Linked DNA regions of Homo sapiens: region 1 is linked to region 2. Evidence: promoter capture Hi-C in 16 types of primary human blood cells and fetal thymus (Javierre and others, 2016). All regions are on one chromosome and are shown on one strand. Each heading gives the region's core, a stretch centred on a gene start or on the middle of the fragment in contact. The rest is flanking DNA. Distances are from core to core; before and after follow the strand shown. Region 1 overlaps BLZF1 (basic leucine zipper nuclear factor 1). Region 2 holds the start of SELL (selectin L).

Region 1 (6,404 bases), core at 1,907-4,406, 340 kb before region 2:
GGGGACACAATTCAACCCCTAAATTGCTAAATACAGTAGTCACTTTTTAGTCCTAGCTGATTTGTCCTCTCTAATATTTAATACTGTTGACCATTCCCTGCCTTTTGAGATACGTTCTTTTGATGACTTCCATGACATCACTTTTATTTTCAGTCTACTCTGTAGCCTTTCACTGTCCAATGCGGTAATTACATGTGGCTATTTGAATTTAAATTAATATTTTTTAAAAATTAAAAATTCAGTTTCTCAATGACGCTTGCCAAACTTCAAGTGGTCGGTAGGCAAATATGGCGAGTAGCTATTTCAATCATTGAAGAAAATTCTGTTGGACAGCCCTGCTGTAGCTGTATCTTCTCTCTTTCTTTTTCAGCCTCTTCTCCTTCTTATTTATCTTTTAAATATCAACACTTTCCACCACTGTTTCTTTTCTACTCTCATGACTTCAGTAATTATCTATATAAATGACTTCCAAATCTATCTATATCCCTAATCTCCTTCTTTATGATTCATACCCTTATAGACTACTGCCTACTGGCCATCTTCACATAGCTGTAGGCAACAATTTTAACATGTCCCATAGTGAACTTCTCCTGACCCAGCTTATTCTTTGGATGGGTTGAGTTCTGCATGCTAGAACCATCAGTTAAAGATGGAAAACTGTTTTCTAGATGCCAATTTTTCAGCAAACTGACCTCCAGCCACAAACCCTCTCTAAAAGCAGGTTGAAATAAGTTTAAGAAACAAGGAAGAAAGATCATGCTAATAAATATTTAATTGAATTTAATTCAGCTTTGCAACAGCATTTCATAAGTCACCAGAAGGCTTTTATACCATTAGATAAGCAAGTCAGAGACTGTAATGAAAGTAATAAACTGGGGATTAATGGGAAATAAGAGCAGTTAAATAATTAATGTGAAAGCAACCAACATGGTGCTTGTCAAAAAGCAAAAACTAAATACAATATTATGATTAGTCATTAGAAGTACTGGCAAGTTCTCTGTGAAATTAAATTACTTTTTAATATTTATTATTACTTGTTTTTAATGAGGATTAGAGTTATAAGGCACTTTAACAAACATTATTTTGTGTGATCTTAATTATCCAGTAAGGAAAATAATTCTATTAGCCATATTTCTATTTAATCTGTCATCTGATGTTAGTGAACAAAAGTTACTTGTATTGCATGGCCTGTGAAAAGGTGTACTTGGTTGACATTTGTCAGTTGTCTGTGCTTCCTGTAACTGCCTCAGGAGATAAGTACGGTTGTTTGGTATAGCAACAGAACTTCCTCTCAGAAGACATTTGAGCAGCACTGTCATCATAAGAGGGTTGTATCATGGCTGCTAGTGCTGTTTCTGAAAGGGAAACATACAGTAAATAGTAACAATTAGAAACTTAAAATCCAAAGCTTTTCTTGGATGTGGGATTAAAATTGAAAATAAAGCTATTAAAGTCAACTAGTTTAGTAATAGTAGACCAAATAGAAAGGTCTGAGACATTTAAATATTTTTGATTCCATAAAATAGTCTAACACTAGTTCTGTAGAATAATAGGTGTTAGGTAAAAAAGATATTCCATGAGCAGATAAATTTGATAAATGCTGTATTAAAAGAGAGGCTATACTATGGGACCTCTCAGAGTCCTATAGTATAACTTTAATACTAATGTACATTGAAACTCTGTAGAGATGCAGTATGCAACATTGCCCACACTTATTTGACCAGGGATCTCTATCCATAGAGCCTGTGGTAAGAAGAATGCTTAGATTCCACTTCAGTAAATCTCGATGTTACTCTTAAGTCCATTGTATGTAACTTATTTTACTAATTTAATAATAACTAAACTTTATTAGGTGATATGGGTGACATTTAAAAAGACTCTTGATTTAAAATTACCACATGACAATCCCTAATTTGTTTAACTGTATCATAGCTGAATTTGTATATGTTCTGGAAAGTCTTTCAGACTATAACCAAGTTAGGAATTAATGATTTAGGGTAGAGGAAAAAAAATAAAGCAGTTTTTAAATGGGTTAGTTTTTGGATGTTAAAAATGAAACACTCTAGGTAGTGTATTAACAGACTAATGAGCTTCAGTAAGCATTTATTCATTTTCTCTGTGACAAGGACCATTTTATTAGTTCATGACACAAAGATTAGGAGGCGGTCCATACCCTGAAGAGCTCCCAACAGTCTAGTCTACAAGAGAAACAAATTATTTTTAAAATATATACTACCATGTTTGCATTACTCTGAAAGCACCAAGGGATGGGAGGAGGATGAGGTTAAGTGCTTTGTCCAAGGTCACACAATACATGGCAGTAGGGACTTAAGTTATTTTAACTCAGGCTCTAGTGAGTTAGATTTCTTTTCACTACCCCATTCTGCTGACTTAGAGTACCTCTCATCATAGATTGAAGTTTTATGAATAAAAGAGAAATATTTGTTCAATGACAGACAATAAATTTTTTTTTGCCTCAATATTCTAGAGCAAGGGTTGGCAAATTGTGGCCCTCAGCCTCCTGAGAATATCTGCAATCAGTTTGATAATAGTGGACATTAACACTATTTAAGCCAAACATTATCCTGAATTAAAAAAAAATCTGTTCTTCCCATTATTAGACCTATGTTATCAAAAAATTGTTTTCAATTATTGTTGTTATAGTTTGAATTTCATCAATAAATTTTTTTTCTCTTATTAAATACTTACATGGTATCCTCAATTTTACCTTTTGGTTCACAAAGCCTAAAATATTTACTCTCTGGTCCTTTACAGAAAAAGTTTGCCAGCTCCCATCCTAGAATGTTAGACTAGTGACCTTCTTTGTTCTTTCCCTACATTTCACCAATCCTGGTAGGCAATACGAATGAGCAAACCTTAGATATGTTTTAATTCATTGATAATTGATCACAGGTGGAAGTAATGATGATGAATAATTTAAGGATTGTTTTGTTGGTTCCCTTCAAATAGTGGGGAAGAATAAGGATTGGTGTTTTTCTTGACTTAAGCGTTACTCATAATTATGGAGCTGTTACCATAGGTCCTTGTCTTCCCAATTGAGAGAAGGTAATTATTCGTAAATGTGTCCTGGATTGTGCCTACTGCATATGTAATAAAGGTTTCTAGGTATGTCACAAGGAAAAATCGAATTACGAAAGTTACCAGGTGAGAAAATGTTAAGCCCTGGCTCTTACGGCCTGTTTACCTATGCACATTAGCTAGAATCATAGTTATTACTGAGCGGGAGCTCTCACGTAATATATAATACAACTTTGATATTCATAAATGCTTGAGTAAGTAGAACAGTTTAAATAAAGTTAAGAGTAAATTGGGGTGGAAACAAGTTGGTTGAACTTCTTGATTTTCCAACAAGGTATTTTGTTCAAAAAGAGATTTCTGTTAAATACCTATTAATGGTTCTTTGCCTTTTAAATTTAACTTTAATCATTTTGTAATTTGTTCTTGAATCTCTGTTACTTAAAATTCCAACTCAAAAATGTTACAGCTTGCCTAGAAATTTTATTTGACCATAATGGAAGTATCACACCTGTTTTTTATTTCCTCAGCCTCAGTGGGCCTGAACCATGGCTGTAGTGCGTGTTTTTATTGTTGATGGTTTTTATTAATTTATAGTTAATACATGATTCTGTGTTACTTCTTAAATGCCAGAATGTCTTATTGACAAGATTAGACAAGTTAGTTAAGTTTAGACAAACTTAAAATCAGATTTTAAGAATACAGGTAGCTGGGTGTGATGGCTCACATCTGTAATCCAAGCACTTTGGGAGGCTGAGGCCAGAGAATTGCTTGAGCCTAGGATTTCAAGACCATTCTGGACAACATGATGAAACCCTGTCTCTACAAAAAAAAAAAAAAATACAAAAAAAATACAAAAAATTATTTGGTCATGGTGGCACATGCCTGTAGTCCCATCTACTTGGGAGGCTGAGGTGGGAGGATCACCTGAGCCCAGGAAGTCAAGGCTGCAGTAAGCTGTTTTTAAATGATTCAGTGGAAGTTCTCCTTGTCAGTGCTACCATGCTTTGTTTTAACTAATTTACCAAACCCAGCATGTTAGGCCTTTATTTCACTTTCTGAAGTATTCCTTTGTTTATCTTTTTAAAAGTAGAGTCAATCCCAAGGCCCAAGGGGTGTTTAAACTTAGTTTACATTTCATATGGAAATGACACGATTTTATTCTAATGTAAAATGTTTTGTAAAATAGAACACATTAATTATACCTCAGCTATGTTTCCACCTCCTGTCTAATTAACATAACTCGAGGTTCCCAGAACATTTCTACATGGGAAAAATTTGAAAAAAGTAAATCTGTTACTTGAATAAATAGTCCTATAGTCTAGCAATATAACTTTAAGATTTACATAACAGAATGAAAGTCAGAATTGTATTTTATGGCATTAAATAAATTAACTTTATTTCTGTCTATATCAACATCCAAAGTTTATTAGGAATTTATTTAAAGAATAATAAAAGCAATAGGACCTAACATTTAATGAGTGCTTACTGTGTCAAATACCATTCTAAACAGTTTACATGTATTCTTATTTATTTTTAAGTACAATATAAATCATAGGTATTGAGCATGCAAATAAATAAATAGTAAGGATATTAGGCATAGATCCACAGATACACTGGTAGAGTGATTTTCGAAGGCATTTCGGCCGTACAGATCTTCACCAAACCCATTAATTTTATGCTTGGGAATTTATTTGAAAAAATAACTCAGAAGTTAAGAAAAATATGTAGGCATAAAAGTGTTCAATAAAGCCTTATTTATTATAGTGAAAAATTGTAAAGAGTCTAAATATTCAACAGTAGAATAAGAAAGTAAATGCTATATTAACTTGAAGGGAATATATTCTAGCCATAAAATAAAAAATATGTTAAGCTTACGAAATTTATTACTGTTACAAGTATAAAAGGAATTCTGTTTTAAGTCTTTGTTTTAGGAGATTACATTACACACACACATATATATATAAAACATATATATAAAAAACATATATACATATAAAACATATATATATAAAACATATATATATATATATATATATATATATATATATATATGGTCTGGCTGGACAGTGATGAATTCACTGAAGACCAATCAGTAGTTCATGATTGTCCTTAATGTTTCTATAGACATAAAATTTCTATTGAAATATTTTTATACCACTTACCTGCACACTTATTATATATTATCCTGTAATACATTTTATCTTTTTATATGTATGTTCTGTCCCCTAAATTAGGTAGTAAATTTCTTAAGCATAGTGGTCTTACCTCATAGAATGTCTAGCCTTCATTAGGTACCCAGCATCATGTTTGCTGCCCGTGACCACTCAGAGTTCATCATTATAACCATTGTTACTGATCTGTGTGCTCGTCTTTTGTCCCTCCCCTTGTTATCATTCATTTATTGTTTATAACATATATACATATATATATATATACACACACACTACATGCAAGGCATTTTATTGGGAATACAGTGCACTCAAAATAAATTGAAAGCCACTAGAGGGAATGAGAGAACAATAAAAGAATTTGGGTATGATATGGTGAAAGTGAGGTATAAGGATGTTTAATCTGACAATCCAGTGTAGTTTCACTTGTGTAAGCAGGACATAAACTGTTAGGCCTAAGAATAGGATTGAATCTTTTCTTAATAAATTTTTCGGTGTAACATATATGTTGCTTCCTCTTACTCCAAGAGTTCACAAAACAGATGAATCTCTTATGATGTAGATGGTTTCAAATATGCATCTATATAGCTGACATTTATTTTAACTAACATTATTGAGTGTCTACAGTATGCCAAGCATTTCATCTTATTACATTTTTTCTTACCAAAATTCTATAGCAAAGTTGTTATGATCTCCGTTTTGCAAATTAGGAAATAGAGATTCATGGAAGATTAAATTATTTACCCAGGGTTATACTAGAAAGTAAAAGTCAGAACCAAATATTCTGATTCCAAATCTCTTGTCTACTGAAGGAAAGTTTAAACATGTATCTTTTGTTGACACATGATTGTTTTGAAAATTACTTTTTCTCTGATTTTTTTTTTGCATTCTTTTTAGTGCCAGTAATTTTGAATATAGGGTATAGCATGTATTAGCATTTTCTTGGCATTTCTTCTTGGTAAGTAGTTTCTGTTTTGTTTCCTTTTTGTTAGTCACCGTTACTTCATCCCCAATCCGAGGAGCAGGAGATGGAATGGAAACTGAGGAACCACCTAAATCTGTTGAAGTTACCTCCGGAGTCCAATCTAGAAAGCATCATAGTCTTCAGAGTCCATGGAAGAAAGCAGTTCCATCAGAGAGCCCAGGAGTTCTTCAGCTAGGGAAAATGCTCACTGAAAAAGCAATGGAAGTTAAAGC
Region 2 (6,409 bases), core at 811-3,310:
TCATAATAATATATGGCATTCTAAGCATGGTATGATCTACATGAATCACTATTTAATACAGTAAAGAAACAGATATAATTGATGGTAAAGAGCATCATAAAATAAACATTTTGAACAGAGTTTTGAATGAGCATTCCACTAGAATGCAAGTTCTAAGAGGGAAAAAACTGTTGTGTCCACTGCTGTATCCTTAGTGCCTAGCATAAATTTCACACATTGTAGGGACTCAGAAAATACCTGTTGTATGAAAAGAGCACTAAGTTTCTATGTGACACAGTGCAGACATGGCATAAGGAATGTGTGAACGGGAGAGTTAGCATGTTTGCTTGGCTAGAGCTGAAAATCCAGGCTAGGGAGAAAGAAGACATTAGTTTACTTAGGAAATGAAAAACCAAGTTCAAAGCTATTGCTGGAGAGTCTTCAAGAATCAGATATAAAATTTGTCACAACAATGGGAGAAGGACCAAAAAATGATAAACCCCCGTCCCTTAATAAGCTCGTATTGTAATTGTAGAAATGACATTAATGTACACTGAACTATGAATAAAAAATAGAAAATGAGGTGCTAAATATTTGGTACAGATTGTAAGTACCTTAACAGAGATTTCTTAATTAACATTATTCCTTTATAATTGAGGGATTTTGTGGGGTTATTGGGATTTGAACTCTACAGCATGGGCTATTATAGGTTAAAAATAGTGTTCAGGAGTTTCTGGGGAAGAACTAAAGGTAAGAAGAAAAGAGATGTTTACAGAAGGGATAGAATTAACAGCTCTGTGAAATAATTTTCCCTTAGACTATGTATAACTAGTGGATATTTAAGAAAAATGAATATAAGTAAAATAGACTTAGCGATATATAAATATCATAACATACCACAACAGAGCATTGTCCACCCCCACAACTTGAAGATGTTCCATAAGTCCCTCTGGGTGCTCTGACATTTCCATGGAAATATCTGCAAATGAAATACAAAATTATATTTAGATGTATACTCTTAAACCACACATTTATAGCCTTTGAGGTGGTGCTTACAACTTTCTTAATAATCAGAATAAAACACATATGTCTACTAACCCTGTCTGAGGTAACAGGTTTCTCAGACATAGATGAAAAATTACTTCAAATTTACATCAGAACTGATGCACAGTTTTGTTTTGTTCTATTTTATTTTTACGCTTTAGTCTCAAGTTGCTAATCGGTACTGCCCTGAATTTTTTCTATGGTTTGGTAATTTTTATACCTGCTTTTCTGCTGAGCTATTAGATAAAACTATTTAATATTTACTATGTATATTTTTTAAAGTATTGTTGCTGCTTAATTAACTATTGATGCTTATATTTAATGTTATAGCCTCACTCTTGATCATAATGGGTCAATGCCTCAAATACCTAAAAAAAAAAAAAATTAGATAGCCAGACACCAGGAAAGAAAAGTATTTCTTTTTTTAATAAAAAGAAATACCTTTTTGAGCAACTGAAATGACAAAGTCACAAATTTCCTGCACACCTTAAAATATACTTAATGTAAATGACGAGTTAATGGGTGCAGCACACCAACATGGCACATGTATACATGTGTGACAAACCTGTATGTTGTGCACATGTACCCTAGAACTTAAAGTATAATTTTAAAAAAATTCTATCTTCCAAAGCATATCACTTCTCAGGTAGACACAGTGTTTATTGCAAAAGATCTGATTTCAATAGTATTTCTTCAAGAGTCTCCCCAGAGACAAAGTCAAGAAGAGGAAATCAGCATATCTGAGAAGAAAGATTTCAGGATCACTTTTTTTGAGGGTCTGAGAAAATGTTTAGTTTCTATATTATTTAAAACCAGAATTGAAATGGGGTGATTCCTATCCTTGCCACCTGCCTCTACAACCCCAAGAGTTTCTATCTGAGCATCTAAACGTCTTTTAGGCTGAAAGGCTCACCATGGCTTTGCTTGGTCCTTCTCTAGTTCTTCTGCAGCCCATTGAGCCTCTTGACTTAGCACAAGGGTCTCAGGTCCTTGCCCAAAGGGAGTGTGCTGTGCTGCAGGTAGACTGCACTGAATGTCAACAGAAAGCCTTGCTTTCTTTCATTTCTCTAACCCAGTCTCACATCCTCCTCCTCCTCCCCTTTTCCCTCCCCTTCCTCCTGCACTTCTCTTTCCTCTTTCCCCACCCCTTTCCTAGACTGGCCTCTATTGCCTCCCACTGAGACAAAAATGAACTGCTGATCAGAAAGTAATGTGACTAGATTCTCTCTTCCTTCCCTCCTTTCTATCCTTCCTTCCATTCTCCTATGCATCTTTCCTTACCCTCCTCCTCCTTCACTCATTGTTGTTGCTGTTCTTCTTCCTCTTCTTTTTCCTCCTGCTCCTCTTCTTCTACTTGTTCTTGTTCTTGTTTTTGTTTGGTTCTTGTTCTCCTCTTCCTCCTTCTCTCTCTCCTCCTCCTCCTTCTTTTCCACCACCCTCCCCTATCTTTTTCATAAATGCTAAACTAACTCTTGGCTACCTGTGGTAAATGGCCCTTGGAAATTGCAAATACTACAAATCAAAACTGCATTTCAGACATATTTATGATGTTTGCAAAACTTCAGTAGAGCTAAGCAGTGGACTTGACTCGTTTCGGTTCCTTCACCTCCGTCTTTCCTTGCTCACCACCTAGTGGACGTCCTTGTTAGTGGCACTTCCTGAAGTTAACCCCTGAAGAGAGCCCATGCTCTCTAGCTTTTCACCGTGTAGGTTTGGGAGCCTACAAGTACCTTTAATATTCTTGGACTATAAAATGAGATGGTTTTATAAGACTGCATGTGAAATTAGGACCCATATGATGAAGGACAATAAAAAGGAAGACCCACTGATGTGAGTCAATGAGTCAAATGCAAATCAGATTTGCATTTTTAGGAAAATAATAATAACAACAACAAAAACTCTGAAGCTCAGCGCCCCATATTTATTATATTGTTTAATCTTTATAACAGCTCTCTGCTATAGATATGATTATTATCCCCATTCTAAAGAGTCTCAAAGAGGTTAAGAAACAAATTCAAAAACTAGCGAAAGACAAGAAATAACTAAGATCAGAGCAGAACCATAGGAGGTAGAGACACGAAAAAGCCTTCAAAAAATCAATAAATCCAGGAGCTGCATTTTGAAAAGATTAACAAAATAGATGGACCACTAGCTAGACTAATAAGAAAGAAGAATCAATAGACACAATAAAAAATGGTAAAGGGGATATTACCACTGATCCCGTAGAAATACAAACTACCATCAGAGATTACTATAAACATCTTTACACAAATAAACTAGAAAATCTAGAAGAAATGGATAAATTCCTGGACACATACACCCTCCCAAGACTAAACCAGGAAGAAGTCAAATCCCTGAATAGACTAATAACAAGTTCTGAAATTAAGGCAGCAATTAATAGCCTACCAACTAAAAAAAGCCCAGGACCAGATGGATTCACAGCCAAATTCTACCAGAGGTACAAAGAGGTGCTGGTACCATTCCTTCTGAAACTATTCCAGAGAATAGAAAAAGAGGAACTCCTCCCTCACTCATTTTATGAGGCCAGCATCATCCTGATACTAAAACCTGGCAGAGACACAACAAAAAAAGAAAATTTCAGGCCAATATCCCTGATGAACATCATTGCGAAAATACTCAATAAAATACGGCAAACTGAATCCAGCAGCACATCAAAAAGCTTATCAACCACAATCAAGTTGGCTTCATCCCTGGAATGCAAGGCTGGTTCAACATACACAAATCAATAAACAGAATCCATTACGTAAACAGAACCAATCACAAAAACCACGTGATTATCTCAATAGATGCAGAAAAGGCCTTGGATAAAATTCAACACCCCTTCATGCTAAAAACTCTCAATAAACTAGGTATTGATGGAACGTATCTCAAAATAATAAGAGCTATTTATGACAAACCCACAGCCAATAGCATACTGAATGGGCAAAAACTGAAAGCGTTCCCTTTAAAAACTGGCACAAGACAAGTATGCCTCTCTCACCACTCCTGTTCAACATAGTATTGGAAGTTCTGGCCAGGGCAATCAGGCAAGAGAAAGAAATAAAGTGTATTCAAATAGAAGAGAGGAAGTCAAATTGTGTCTGTTTGCAGATGACATGATTGTATATTTAGAAAATCCCATTGTCTCAGCCCAAAATCTCCTTAAACTGATCAGCAACTTCAGCAAAGTCTCAGGTTACAAAATCAATGTGAAAAAATCACAAGAATTCCTATACAGCAATAATAGACAAACAGAGAGCCAAATCATGAGTGAACTCCCATTCACGATTGCTACAAAGAGAATAAAATACCTAGGAATCCAACTTACAAGGAATGTGAAGGACCTATTCAAGGAGAACTACAAACCACTGCTCAAGGAAATAAGAGAGGACACAAATGAATGGAAAAACATTCCATGCTCATGGGTAGGAAGAATCAATATCATGAAAATGACCATACTGCCCAAGGTAATTTATAGATTCAGTGCTATCCCCATCAAGCTACTACTGACTTTTTTCACAGAATTAGAAAAAAACTACTTTAAATTTCATATGGAACCAAAAAAGAGCTTGTATAGCCAAGACAATCCTAAGCAAAAAGAACAAAGCTGGAGGCATCATGCTACCTGACTTCAAACTATACTACAAGGCTATAGTAACCAAAACAGCATGGTGCTGGTACAAAAACAGATATATGGACCAACGGAACAGAACAGAGGCATCAGAAATAACACCACACATCTACAACCATCTGATCTTTGACAAAGCTGACAAAAAGAAGCAATTGGGAAAGGATTCCCCATTTAATAAATGATGTTGGGAAAACTGGCTAGCCATATGCAGAAAACTGAAACTGGATCCCTTCCTTACACCTTATATAAAAATTAACTCAAGATGGATTAAAGACTTAAATGGAAGACCTAAAACCATAAAAATTCTAGGAGAAAACCTAGGCAATACCATTCAGGACGTAGGTATGGGCAAAGACTTCATGACTAAAACACCAAAAGCAACAGCAACAAAAGCCAAAATTGACAAATGGGATCTAATTAAACTAAAGAGCTTCTGCACAGTAGAAAAAAAAAAACTATCATCAAAGTGAACAGGAAACCTACAGAATGGGAGAAAATTTTTGCAATCTATTCACCTGACAAAGGGCTAATATCCAAAATCTACAAGAAACTTAAACAAATTTACAAGAAAAAACAAACAACACCATCAAAAAGTGAGTGAAGGATATGAACAGATGCTTCTCAAAAGAAGAAGTTTATGCAGTCAACAAACATATGAAAAAAAGCTCATCATCACTGGTCATTAGAGAAATGCAAATCAAAACCACAATGAGATGCCATCTCATGCCAGTTAGAATGGCGATTATTAAAAAGTCAGGAAACAACAGATGCTGGAGAGGATGTGGAGAAATAAGAATGCTTTTTACAGTGTTGGTGGAAGTGTAAATTAGTTCAATCATTGTGGAAGACAATGTGGCGATTTCTCAAGGATCTATAACTAGAAAAACCATTTGACCCAGCAATCCCATTACTGGGTATATACCCAAAGGATTATAAATCATTCTACGATAAAGACACATGCACACTTATGTTTATTGAGGCACTATTCACAACAGCAAAGAGTTGGAACCAACCCAAATGCCCACCAATGATAAACTGGATAAAGATGATGTGGCACATATACATCATGGAATACTATACAGCCATAAAAAAGGATGAGTTCATGTCCTTTGCAGGGACATGGATGAAGCTGGAAACCGTCATTCTCAGCAAACTAACACTGGAACAGAAAACCAAACATTACCCATTCTCACTCATAAGTGGGAGTTGAACAATGAGAACACATGGACACAGGGAGGGGAACATCACACACTGGGGCATGTCAGGGGATGTGGGGCTAGGGGAGGAACAGCATTAGGAGAAATACCTAATGTAGATGACAGGTTGATGAATGCAGCAAACCACCATGGCACATGTATACCTATGTAACAAACCTGCACGTTCTGCTCATGTATCCCAGAAATTAAAGTATAATTTAAAAAAAGTTTAAAAAAAGAAAGTTGCCTTAGTCACATAACTAGTAAGAGACATGGTTGGGAATTTGAACAGAGGCCAATCAGTTCCAAATCCATGCTCTTGATCATTAAGCTGAACTTATGGCAGGAACTTGGAAGACATGGTAAAATGGGGAAAAACGTGGAGCCAGGGAGACTTGTGAAAGTGCCAGTGCTCCCACTATACCCTGAAAGAAGTATCTAGACTTACTTTTTTCTAAGTCCTCTCCTCTAATTCTCTCAATCTCTCTCTCTCTTTCTCTAAGAGATGGGAATGCTGCTCTGTCACTCAGGCTAGAGTGCAGTGGTGCGATCATAGCTC

Evidence for each region. Contacts are between HindIII fragments. The CHiCAGO score rates a contact against its expected background, and 5 or more counts as called.
Region 1: a contact is called between a fragment that was not itself captured here and the fragment with the promoter of SELL in region 2, in 1 of 17 cell types (neutrophils). The highest score is 5.5, in neutrophils.

What each region holds. Positions count from the first base shown.
Region 1 is chr1:169,370,341-169,376,744 of GRCh38, forward strand. It overlaps BLZF1 (basic leucine zipper nuclear factor 1), which reads left to right. Exons shown (of 7, transcript NM_001320973.2): 3 at 6,200-6,404. Among named protein-coding and RNA genes, the nearest start is that of BLZF1, 5.3 kb to the left of the region's middle. The HindIII fragment of the contact is 3,501 bases long and covers 1,407-4,907 here.
Region 2 is chr1:169,709,560-169,715,968 of GRCh38, forward strand. It overlaps SELL (selectin L), which reads right to left and starts at 2,061. Exons shown (of 9, transcript NM_000655.5): 1 at 1,937-2,061; 2 at 877-958. The coding sequence starts at 1,939. The HindIII fragment of the contact is 5,813 bases long and covers 1-3,701 here.